Linked DNA regions of Homo sapiens: regions 1, 3 and 4 are each linked to region 2. The links are contacts of gene promoters, found by promoter capture Hi-C in human tissues and cell types (Jung and others, 2019). All regions are on one chromosome and are shown on one strand. Each heading gives the region's core, a stretch centred on a gene start or on the middle of the fragment in contact. The rest is flanking DNA. Distances are from core to core; before and after follow the strand shown. Region 1 overlaps B4GALNT3 (beta-1,4-N-acetyl-galactosaminyltransferase 3). Region 2 holds the start of ERC1 (ELKS/RAB6-interacting/CAST family member 1). Region 3 has its middle 39 kb from the start of LINC00942. Region 4 has its middle 39 kb from the start of FBXL14.

Region 1 (2,830 bases), core at 124-2,623, 510 kb after region 2:
GAAGGGATCTGGGCAGAGTGGGGCAGTGACACCATCAAAGCCACAGCCATCACTGAACACGGTGGCACGTGCTTGTAACCCAGCTACTCTGGCGGCTGAGGTCGGATGATGGCTTGAGCCCAGGAGTTTGACACCAACCTGGGCAACATGGTGAGACCCTGCTTCATTTAAATAATAATAAAAAAAAAGCCACAGCCATGAAACAAAATACCTTCACCAAGAGTCAGGTCACTGCAGAGAGACTCTAGGCTGTCTCCTGTGGCCTGCTGAGCTTCTGAACTCTGCTACATCCCCTACCTGGAGCTGAGTCAGAAGCCTTGATTCCTTCAGGACTTAATAGGTTTGTCTGTGCCAGCTTCCTCTTGCCTTAGTTTCCCCTCTCTATAAAGGAGGCTGTAACCTCTGTCTTCCCAGCGAACTCCAGGATTCATCACGCTAGGTGGGTGTCATTTTCCACTTCCATTGTCCATAAGGACACCTTCCCAGATGGGTGGAAAAGGACCAAACTTCCTTCAGGGAGAAGAGCAGTAGCAACCTCTGATCCTGAAGGTAACCACAGCTGTGACTTCCCAGGAGAAAGGTTCTATGTAAAAACAGGGTACTGTTGTTTGCCTGCCCTTCCACCCCTTCCTTCCCAAGATTGGTTCGTGAAAACCCTGCCGGCTGGAGAAAGTGTTCACCACCCTGGAACTTTCCCAACCTTCTTAGAGATACAAAGGATCAGAAAAAGATAGAAAAACCCTTTCTTAAGGATTTTTTTTCCTGTTGAAAAAGCTGCTAGAAGAATCATCACTGAAAATATCACAACCAATTTCTATATCCCAGAAACTGAACTTCCCTATTCTTTTTTGTATTAACAAGTACCTTGGGTAGTTTTTGCCCATTTCTTTTTCTCAAAATGGTAAATGTTGACTTCCAATTTGATAGCTCTTGCTTCAATCAATAAATACTTCCCTAAAACAGACAGGTGGTATTTCCTAAGCAACCTAATTAAAGCTTTACTACTGGAGAATTTTCTTTATGCAAATATTTTTTCAATTTTCATGCATCAAAGCAAAATTGAATTCTCATTCAACAAGCTAAATCAGGCTTGAATATTTTTTTTTTTTTTACCTCCTCTAATTTTTTTTTTTTTTTTTTTTTTAAAGACAGAGTGTCACTCTGCCACCCAGGCTGGAGTGCAGTAGTGCGAACACAGCTCACTGCAGCCTTGATCTCCTGGGCTCATGCGATCCTCCCACCTCAGCCTCCCAAGTAGCTGGGACTACAGGGTTGGGCCACCATGCCTGGCTAACTTTTAAATTTTTTGTAGAGATGGGGTCTTGCCATGTTGCCCAGGCTGCTCTAAAACTCCTAGGTGCAAGCAATATGCCCACAGCAGCCTCTGAAAGTGCCAGGATTGCAGGCATTCTGAACCATTGTGCCCCCTCTATAATCTTCCAAACATGTTCTGAACCTATTTGTTGCTACCTCTCTGCCACTTTTCTTTAATCTGTTACCCATTTCACTTTTTACCCTCACACTGCCAGTAATGGACTTCCATTTGCTAAACAGAACTAGGATTATGAAAATATCTGCCCTCATCAACTTGTATATTTCTACACAGAGAGAAGAATAACGGATAAGACAGCAATGTTTTAAATACATCATGAATCTGTCTACCAAAGGGCTTCATCATTCATGTGTTCCAGGATTCTTCTGATCTAAAATCAACTTCATCTATTCATTATTTCCCATCCCTTCTCGATTCAAGAAAGTGAGAGAGGAAATCATGACTCCATTTGCCTTTTATTTAAGAAGCTGTACACTGGAATGGGTTCCGTTTCTCAGGACGGGAGTGTGCAACAAAGGAACCTGTTGGATGAAGAATGTCGAGCCTTGGCCTTTCTCGTGCAATGTGAAAATTCAATTCAACATCAACAATAACTTCTTTGCAGGTTACTCTCCAATATCAATGTCAATGCAGGGTGTCAGTGCATGGATCACCCCTAAAGGCAGCTGAGTTGGGAACATGCATGATCCACCCCCAACTGAGTGGCAATAACTTCAGCTAGTTCACTGGTAAGAAAAAAATAGATCAATAGACTTGAGGTTGGTCTATATGCAGGCACAATATACTACCAGATTGTTAGGGCAGTTAGAAAAAGAAAGGATCTTCCCTGACCTCGTGAAACTCAGATGTTAAAAGGAGGCATCCTCAGCAAACAAAAAGGGAATGAGCGAAGGCAGAGGGTGAGTGGCATGGTGTGTTGTAAACAATAGTCTAGGCACCAGGAGTCCTATAAACTGCTATATGGGCAGGTTGATTAAAGCTCTCCAGGCTTTCAATTCTTCACTGGTAAAATCAGGAGGCTGGGTAAATAGATAACCTTTTTAAGGGGCAGCTCAAGTCAATTTGTAGTGACTGCCTGGTGAGAAATGTTGAGAAAATTCTGAGGCTGCAGCTGAGCTCGGTAAAAGAATTTCATGTTCTATTGGAGATGTCTGCCATGGGCCTAGAAGAAGAAATGCAGATATAATCCATTTCAGAATTTAAAATCTCTGGACTTCTGCTTTGCTTTTGGTTTTCTTCCATGTCTGCACCCCTGGGGTCCACCCTGTCCTAGGATTCTTTGATATGTGAAAGTCAGCATGCTAAAACCAATCAAAACAGGGACAGAGGGTATTGAAAAGCTGATTAAGTTATAATAAACAATGGCGCCTAACATCTACTGCATGTATCTTCAAATCAACATTCAATTCTGGGCACATACTAGGCGCTCAGATAAGCATTTATTTATTTATGAGGCAGGGCCTTGCTCTGTCACCCAGGCTGGGGTGCAGTGGCGTG
Region 2 (2,707 bases), core at 91-2,590:
ATTGAGGAGCCTACCAAAAAAAAAGAGTTCCATTTCATTTTAAAGTGTTTTAATAAAGACTGCAAGAAACATAACTGCAAATGAGAAATAAAATTTCAACAATTTAGCACTGAACACAAAATGTCTAAAAGTCAAGGTGTACTGAGCAAGCAACACGCTATAAAAGACGGTTGTACTTTAAAACATTTAAGCATTTTTCATATAATTAGCTCCAACAGAACTATTCCAATTGTTCACTTTATCCACCCAAAGCAGTCAACCACAACCACCTGCAACTATTATTCAGCAATGTGCCTTCCAAAGCAACCACCTGAGTTTGGGGCCTTCTCTCAAGGGGCCAGGATAAAGCCTGTAAAAGGGTGGTATAAAGAGATCTTTTAGGCATTGGGGGGAAAAAAAACTGGAAGACACCACCTTGAAGGAGCTAAGCGTAATGCGACCCAAATGGTGGCTGCCGGAACGAAGTTGTCTAAACCGAAGATCTCCCTCTTCTTCGGTGTAAAACTTTCAGATACATCCACGCTCACAATTTACCTGAGCCAAAGTAAGGGGATTCTCTTCCCTCTCCGACCCCCCACCCACCCCGCCAGAAGAAAAAGAATCGAACCCTAAAGTAGAAACGTGAGATCTAGTGCAATAAAATAGGTTCTGCAACTGCCTCAAAGGCAACATGCACAGCTCATCGTCCTTTTGAAATACACTTCATCTTTTATCTCACCATTTCATCGAAAAGAAAAGAATCATCTTCAGCATTTTACATCACTCACCTAACCCAAAGATCCACCCTGACCGCACCCCAACCTCATGGCTCCCCAATTTCTCCGTCTCCCCACTACCTCGTCCGCGGCTTCACTAGTCCTAAGCCTCCCCCCCTCCGCTCCCCAAGTGCCCAGAGCCCCAGTCCCCACTCCCCCACCTCCCGCCCCAGGATCCCCACATCTACCGCCTCGGCTCCCGCCCGATCCCGGAGCCCGGCTGGGTGGAGCCCGCGGGTGGGCGCCGGTGGTCTGGGTGGGGCCCGCCCCTCCCCACCCCCCGGGCTGCCGAGGAGGGGGAGGGGGTCGCGAAGCCTCACCTACAGCTCCGCCCCTCCCCGGGGGCGCGTTGCCCTGCCCAGCCCAGCCCGGGCCGTGAGCAAGAAGCTGGGTAGGAAAGGCGAAAGCCTCAGCACTAGCGACAGGGGGGAAGCTCTGGGTCCCGCGCGACTTCCGCGCTGTCGCCGCCGCCGCGGCCGTCTCACCGTCCTCAGGGCTGCCGCTACTGCTGCTGCTGCCGCCCAGGCACCGCCGCCGCCGCCACTACCGCCGCCGCCGCCGCCACAGCACGGCCCAGGCGCCCGCGACGTCACCGCGCCCCGCCCCCTGCGCGAGACACCTAGCCCCGCCCCCAGCCCCGCCGCGGGGCGCAGCGCGCCTCCCCGGGCTCCCGGCTCGGCTGCCTCCCTTTCCCTCAGCCTCCCGGGAGCGTGACGCGGCGGCCCGGGGGCCTCCGGGCGCCTTCCGGGGCACGCGGGTGAGGAACTGGGAAGCGGGGGAAATCGGCGCCACGGCGGTCGATTAGCACCGAAACAGAGTGATGGGCGCGGAGCGTCCCTGCACACACACACACACTCACACACACACACACACGACCCCTGCGGCCACGGGAGGGGAGAGCCGGGGTCGGCTCCGCGAGCGCAGGGTGGCGCTTGTCTCCTCCTGCTTGCCGTAGGAAGTGGACGCTGGAAGCCCGAGGAGCCGCTTCGTGTCTTCCCAAACCTAAGCGGCGCCCCACCCCCTACTTCTCGTGGCCCGTTACGCCCGGGGCAGCCAAGCGCCGCGGGAGCAGCGCCGGGATCGACCCTGGCTGCTGGGGGGACGCTTTGTCCCAAGAAAGCTGGTTTTTTGCCCCTTAGCTTCGTGGAACGCGGCCGCGAAATTAGTGGTCTTCTGACCTGAGACTCGCGGGGCTGCGCACACGGGCATCGCCGAGGACCCCAGCAATGGACGTCGTGTCTGTGGTGATCCCGCCAGGACGCGGGGAGCGTGGGCGGAAATTAGTGTCCACGTTCCGACCCTGCGCTGTGCCAAACGCTGCTTCGGGAGCTGTTTATTTAGCCTCCGACAGCTAAGCGAATCGGCGGGCGGCTGGGGCCTGGTGCAACCCGATTTTCTCGTGCAGACTCGCAGCCGGCTTTGGTTTTGTTTTTTGTTTTTTGTTTTTTTTTTGGAGCCATGCAGAGGGTAGCTACAGCCATTAATTTAAGGATGTAGATAAGCTATCTCTAAACCAAGAAAGTAAGAATGGTGTGAATTATATTTATTCCCAGCCTTCCAGTGTTTATTAAAATAATTTTCGGTGTCCTTGAGAGGAGTTAAAAGCCATCATTTTACTCCTGCTTACCTCCGCCACCGTAATTAACCACTTTATACTGCCTCATAATCCCATTAACAAATTGCAGTCGCTCCTCAGCCTTCACATTCATTCACTCACCAGTTTCTACTGTTTCATCCTGCCCGGACTCTTAACTGTTCCCTCCCAGGATCGACATGCACTTGGATCATTGCAGTTTCTGGGCCTGCTGTCATCTCCCCCTTCAGTACTTCCCACATATGACTACCAACTGTTAGACGATGTGCTGCTGCCAGACCAGCCTTTCATTTCTTGGACATCCGGCTATTTACCCAGGAAAAGTCATCCTTTGACTATTTTTCATGACCTTTCTCAT
Region 3 (3,036 bases), core at 412-2,911, 550 kb before region 2:
TTTTCCAGTGCCAAGGCAGTGAAACAGGAAAGCATAAAATGAAAAAAGAAAAAAAAAAGCTTGCATTCTACTTCTAGGATGTAACTTCTTTTTGATCCTTTGGGATACTATTTCATCTCACCAGACAAGTTTCTATAATTTCAAAGTCTCTCTCCTAGAAATAGACAAATAAGAAGACAAGTGCCAGGTATGAATCAACACTGAGTCACCTGGAGCTGTGCTTTGTCAGTGAATTTAAACAAGTCTTTGGGTCACAGTTCCCTTCTGCGTATCAGGTAGGAACAGCACTTCGTTGTTCTTACCGTTGGGTATAAAGCACTTCCCTACACGCCATGTCGCTTGACCCTAGCGGTTCTATGAGATAGGAAGGGGTTACACTGTGACTCCATGTACCAATGAGAAGAGGGAGACTGGCAGTGATGAGCACATTTGCTCAAGATTCTCAGCAATGCAAGGGCAGAAATCCTGGACTGCTGATTCCCAGGTGGCCACGAGCAGCCCAGCAGGCTCAAGCATCAGGGTCCAGGGTCCATGGGACGTCCAGTTTTTGCCTAGAATTTCCTCTCTCAATTTTAACATGGTTAATAGATGTTCAACTTGAAGGTGACAGGAAACAAATATTCTGTTTGGCAAAATACAAAAGTGCATTTCCAAGTGAACACCAAGTTAGGCACCAGGAAATGACAACAGGTCCCCTTAGTAAACAGTGATCAATTACCTTATTTCACCAAACCTAAGATGCTACTGATTCTAGAATGCACCATTATTTTGTACCACCAAGAAAGAAAAGTACTTGTCATCAAACTGTCATACAATATTGATTCTGAGATGCATTCTGACCTCAGATATGTTGAAATGCATCTTAATATCGATGAAACATGGTAATTATGGCTGGATTTCTTGAACCGGGGAGGATAACCTGTTTAGAAGTCACTAGCTCATTAACGTGTCAATATGGCTGAGCAGCAGCAACGCCGAGTGGTGGGATTATCAGTGAGGAGAGAGGAGCCCAGACAAGGAGGACATCACTCCTGCCATCCAGGAACCCACCTCTTGGTTGGGAGGACTGTCCAGGAAAAGTCCAAGAGCCTGGAGCTGCAGACCTCTCAACAGGTCTTCGGTAAAAGCAGCTGTCATGGAAGTGAATTCTCAGGTCTCCTTTGTCTCCTCAATCATCAAAATAAACCAAATTATAAAACACTCTGATCTTCTGCCTAAATTCCGACAAGGTATTTCAGAATCTAGGTGTCAATTTCTTGACACTTTTACTTTTTTTCAATGAAGTGTTAAAGTGGGACCTAACATTGACTAAGTACATGATACATGTTAGGCATTGCCCTAATTCACAAAATTATCACATTTCATTCTCAAAAATGACCTTAGGAGTTGGGCATTATTATCCCTGTTTAAACAGTGAAGAAACTGGAGTTCAGAAAACCTAAATGGGCAAGGCAAGCCAATTAGGCTTGAACAGCTGAGTTAGTTTAAACCGAAGTCCCCCTGAGCCTCAAGGCCATGCGCTTTCCACCGGACAGGACGGAAAGCACGGGCTCGCAAAGACTTGTAAAAGCTTGAAAATCACCGCCAGACTAGCCAAGGAAGGCTGATACCCCAACTACACAGTAAATACCAAAACCTCTTCTGCTACAGGACACCTCGTTCAACTTGAGGACCTGTTTAATCAGCAGGGTGGCCGTTCATGGGTGAAGAGGGTAGCGGCATGGTCCACCTGGGAGCAGCGGGAGAGATGGCCTTGTGAGGGTGGGCCCAGGGACAAACAGCTAGTGAGAAAGCTGCTGCCATAATTCACATCAGCTCCCCAACGGCCTGCCCTCGGCAGTAGCATGGAAATAGGATGTAAAACGGATAATAAATCCACAGGATTTAGGAGAAACAAAAACAAGGGAAGACTGTCAGGAAAAAAACAGAGGCATTTTGGAACAGCGGTCGTCTCCCAGGGTGACTCTGCTCCCTCCCGCTCTCCCCACGGGACATTTGGCAATGTCCAGAGACATTTTTGGTTGTCATCCTTCGGAGTGGGGTGCTACTGGCATCGTGTGGGTAGGGGCCAGGTGTGTTCTCAGACATCCTACAATACATGGAGCAGCCCTCTTCAACAAAGAATTATTGGGTCCAAAATATCCATGGTGTCGGGGCTGAGAAACCTGACTCTTGAACAACCTTAAGGAAACAAAAGTGGTGAAGACATTGCCCTTACCCAGCAGCTCATCAACCAAAAAGGCAAAGAAATCACAGGGACTGGCTCTGCATGGACTCCAGGTGCTCACCAGGAAACAGATCACGCACTTGTCCAGCCATCCCTGTGATCTACCACTGTGTGCACCCGATCCACGCCAGGCTCAAGAGAGGAGCTGGAGAGGAGGAGAACAGGCACGGTGCTGGCCCTCAAGGTGTCACCACCTGTCCGGAGGAGACGCGCATGTGTGGAAACACACACCTGAGCCTGTAAATACATGTGTGCTTGTACACACAGGCAGAAAAAACCGAAAAGGAATGCACCAAAATCCTACCAATGATAACTCAAAATCATCATTTTCTTCATATTTTCAATGAAAATATGAATGAATTAAAAAATGAAAAAAAGTCAATGTTTTTCAGTGAACATGTTATACTTTCATCAGTTCTGATAAAACAGGCATATCCCAGGGCCACATGTTCTCGCCAGCTGCCCCACCTCTATGGTATGGCAAAGGAGGCCAAGATGGGGAGGGAGCAACGGAGCAGAGGAAGAACCTACGATTTTGTTTGCTTGTTTTCAGACAAGGTCTCCCTCTGTCACCCAGGCTGGAGTGCAGCAGCACAGTCATAGCTCACTGCAGCCTCAACCTCCCAGGGTCAAGGGATGCTCCCACCTCAGCCTCCCAAGTAGCTGGGACTACAGGTGTTCACCACCACACCCAGATACTTTTTAAAATTTTTTGTAGAGATGGGTGTCTTGTTATGTTGCTCAGGCTGGTCTAGAACTCCTGGCCTCAAGCCATCCCTCCCAAAGCACTGAGATTACAGGAATGAGCC
Region 4 (2,815 bases), core at 250-2,749, 560 kb before region 2:
CTTATGTGTGGTATCTTAAAAAGTCAAACTTATAGAATTACAGTGTAGAATGGTGGTTACCAGATACTGGGGGTGAGGGGTGGGGAATGCACAGATGTTGACCAAAGGGTAGAAAGTTCCAGTTAGACAGGAGGAATAATTCTTCAAGATCTATTACCCAGCATGGCAACCACAGTTAATAATAATGTATTATATATCTCAAAATTGCTAAAACAATAGATTTTAAATGCACTCACTACAAAAAAGGATAAGTATGTGAGGTGATAGATGTGTCAGCTTGATATAATCATTCCACAAGGTATACATATATCGAAACATCACATTGTACCCTGTAAATTTACAATTGTTATTTGTCAACTACAAATAAAAATTGAAGTTAAAAAATAAAAAAGTAATATTCTATTGGGGGATAAACAAAATGTTGTATACACATGCAATGGAATATTATTCAGCCTTAAAAAAGGAAGGAAATTCTGATGCATGCTACGACATGGATGAAATATTGCTAAGTTTCATCCATGGGCCAGGCGAGGTGGCTCACGCCTGTAATCCCAGCACTTTGGGAGGCTGAGGCGGGTGGATCACAAGGTCAGGAGATCGAGACCATCCTGACTAACACGGTGAAACCCCGTCTCTACTAAAAATACAAAAAATTAGCCAGGCGTGGGGGCAGGCACCTGTAGTCCCAGCTACTTGGGAGGCTGAGGCAGGAGAATGACGTGAACCCGGGAAGCAGAGCTTGCAGTGAGCCGAGATTGCGCCACTGGACTCCAGCCTGGGCGACAGAGCAAGATTCCGTCTCAAAAAAAAAAAAGTTTCATCCATGGATGAAACATAGATGCTAAGCAAAATAAGCCAGACACAAAAGGACATATTTTATAATTCCACTTCTAAGAGGTATTTATAATAGATAAACTCATAGATAGAAAGTAGGTCCCGATGTGGTGGCTCGCGCCTGTAATCCAGCACTTCGGGAGGCTGAGGTGGGAGGATCACTTGAGCCCAGGAGTTTGAGACCAGCCTGGTCAACATGGTGAGACCCTGTCTATACAAAAAATAAAAACTAAAAAATTAGCAGAGTGTGGTGGCACACACCTGTAGTCCCAGCTACTTAGGAGGCTGAGGTGGGAGGACTGCTTAAGCCCAGAAGTTTGAGCCTGCAGTGAGCTGTGGTTGCACCACTGCACTCCAACTTGGGTAACAGAGCAAGACCCTGTCTCAAAAATAAATACATACATACATACGCAGGAAAGTAGAAGCAGACAGAAAGAAGTGGTTGTCAGGGGCTGGAAGGCAGGAAGGATGGGAAGTTATTGTTTTATGTTAATTAAACAATAGTGTTAATTCTGAACAGAATTTCAGTTGGGGAAGATGGAAAAGTTTTGGAGATGGACGTGGTGATGATTACACAGCAGTGTGAATGTGCCCAATGCCACAGAACTGTACACTTAAAAATGGTTGAAATGGAAAATTTTGTTAAGTACATTTTACCATAAATTTTTAAAAAACAATAATGTTTGTGAACCTATCTGATAATTGAAAAAACTGGTCTTTGTCCGTGAGTCCCTGTTGGAGCATAAAGCTTCTTCTGCTCAGTGAATGAGCAGATACGAGGCAGCATTGAAAGGAATGCATCCCACATTTGACTGCCCAGTTTGATAGCTAGCAGCACCCCAGGGGTCAAAAGACATATGAGGCCGGGTGTGGTGGCTCATGCCTGTAATCCCAGCACTTTGGGAGGCCAAGGCAGGTGGATCACCTGAGGTCAGAAGTTCAAGACCAGCCTGGCCAGCATGGTGAAACCCCATATCTAGTAAAAATACAAAACTTAGCCAGGCGTGATGGTAGGTGCCTGTAATCCCAGCTACTCAGGAGTCTGAAGCAGGAGAATCGCTTGAACCAGAGAGGCGGAGGTTGCAGTGAGCTGAGATCGCACCACTGCATTCCAGCCTGGGTGACAAGAGAGAGACTCCGTCTCAAAAAAAAAAAAAAAAAAAGACATGGGTCCTTTTTGGACTGTGACCTTGTGTAGCAGGTTTTACCCTGAACCATTAGGGATCAATGAAGCTGATAAATTGTTCCCGTGGGTTAAGAACCAATGCCCATCATCAAGGAGAAATAAGGATTCTCCCAACCGGCCCCTTCCCTCCCATTGCCACATAAGGGAAACTTCTACCATTGCCCCCTCAGAAAGAGACCAAACTCAGACTGCAACCCCTGCCCCCCCACCACTCAGGCAGGTGATCTGGAAGGATCGAGGGGCTTTCCCAGCATCTCAGCCTGTCAGAGGCAAGTCAGAATGAGAATCCAACGCCTACTCAGACACCAGAGCCTCCCTGCCACTCTAGTAGCCAGGACGACTGGAACTATTGCCTACCACAGCCCCTGGCTAAAAATACAACCTCCTCTGAGATGGTTTCAGTTATTCAAATGTTTGAGAGCCAGGCAGCACCTGGCCTGGGTACTATACAAACATCTGGCTGAGGGACTGCCAGAAAACCACTGGGCAGCTGGAGGTCGTATGGGAACTGTGCCCCTGCAGCTGCATGGCCCTGTCCACCTCCTGGCACTTCTCCTTCAAGACCTTCCTTCCACTCTTTCTCCTGCCCGATCGCTGGTCTCCTTCGCTCCTCTGCCCCACCTGGCTTCTCTGCTCTGCCCAGGATGGAATCTCTCCTACCATCTCTGTTCCTTTATTCCCTGCCACACCTCTATCTACCTTTCCACTCGACCTTCACCTGGAAGGGTTTTTCCCTCTCTCGCTTGCCAGTTCAGGGGTTTCCTCCAAGTCCTTCTCAAATGCCATTTGTCTCTG

The links. The method cuts DNA at HindIII sites, captures the fragments that hold promoters and counts their contacts. A contact is called where the count stands out against the background at its distance.
Region 1: a contact is called between a fragment that was not itself captured here and the fragment with the promoter of ERC1 in region 2, in 2 of the 25 tissues and cell types used here (IMR-90 fibroblasts and lymphoblastoid cells).
Region 3: a contact is called between a fragment that was not itself captured here and the fragment with the promoter of ERC1 in region 2, in 1 of the 25 tissues and cell types used here (dorsolateral prefrontal cortex).
Region 4: a fragment that was not itself captured here is called in contact with the fragment with the promoter of ERC1 in region 2 in 1 of the 25 tissues and cell types used here (IMR-90 fibroblasts).

What each region holds. Positions count from the first base shown.
Region 1 is chr12:476,565-479,394 of GRCh38, reverse strand. The region is part of intron 1 of B4GALNT3 (beta-1,4-N-acetyl-galactosaminyltransferase 3); the gene reads right to left. LOC124902853 (a long non-coding RNA gene) reads right to left here. Exons shown (of 2, transcript XR_007063151.1): 2 at 1,770-2,058. Among named protein-coding and RNA genes, the nearest start is that of B4GALNT3, 18 kb to the right of the region's middle. The HindIII fragment of the contact is 4,682 bases long and covers 1-2,830 here.
Region 2 is chr12:989,856-992,562 of GRCh38, reverse strand. It overlaps ERC1 (ELKS/RAB6-interacting/CAST family member 1), which reads right to left and starts at 1,340. Exons shown (of 19, transcript NM_178040.4): 1 at 1,241-1,340. It also overlaps a transcript of RAD52 not described here. RefSeq lists silencers at 526-820, 1,026-1,535, 1,556-1,665, 2,076-2,125 and enhancers at 824-1,385, 1,947-2,509. The HindIII fragment of the contact is 12,512 bases long and covers 1-2,707 here.
Region 3 is chr12:1,538,116-1,541,151 of GRCh38, reverse strand. No RefSeq gene overlaps it. Among named protein-coding and RNA genes, the nearest start is that of LINC00942, 39 kb to the right of the region's middle. The HindIII fragment of the contact is 3,970 bases long and covers 1-3,036 here.
Region 4 is chr12:1,554,195-1,557,009 of GRCh38, reverse strand. No RefSeq gene overlaps it. Among named protein-coding and RNA genes, the nearest start is that of FBXL14, 39 kb to the left of the region's middle. RefSeq lists enhancers at 2,173-2,272, 2,553-2,612, 2,673-2,742. The HindIII fragment of the contact is 4,184 bases long and covers 1-2,815 here.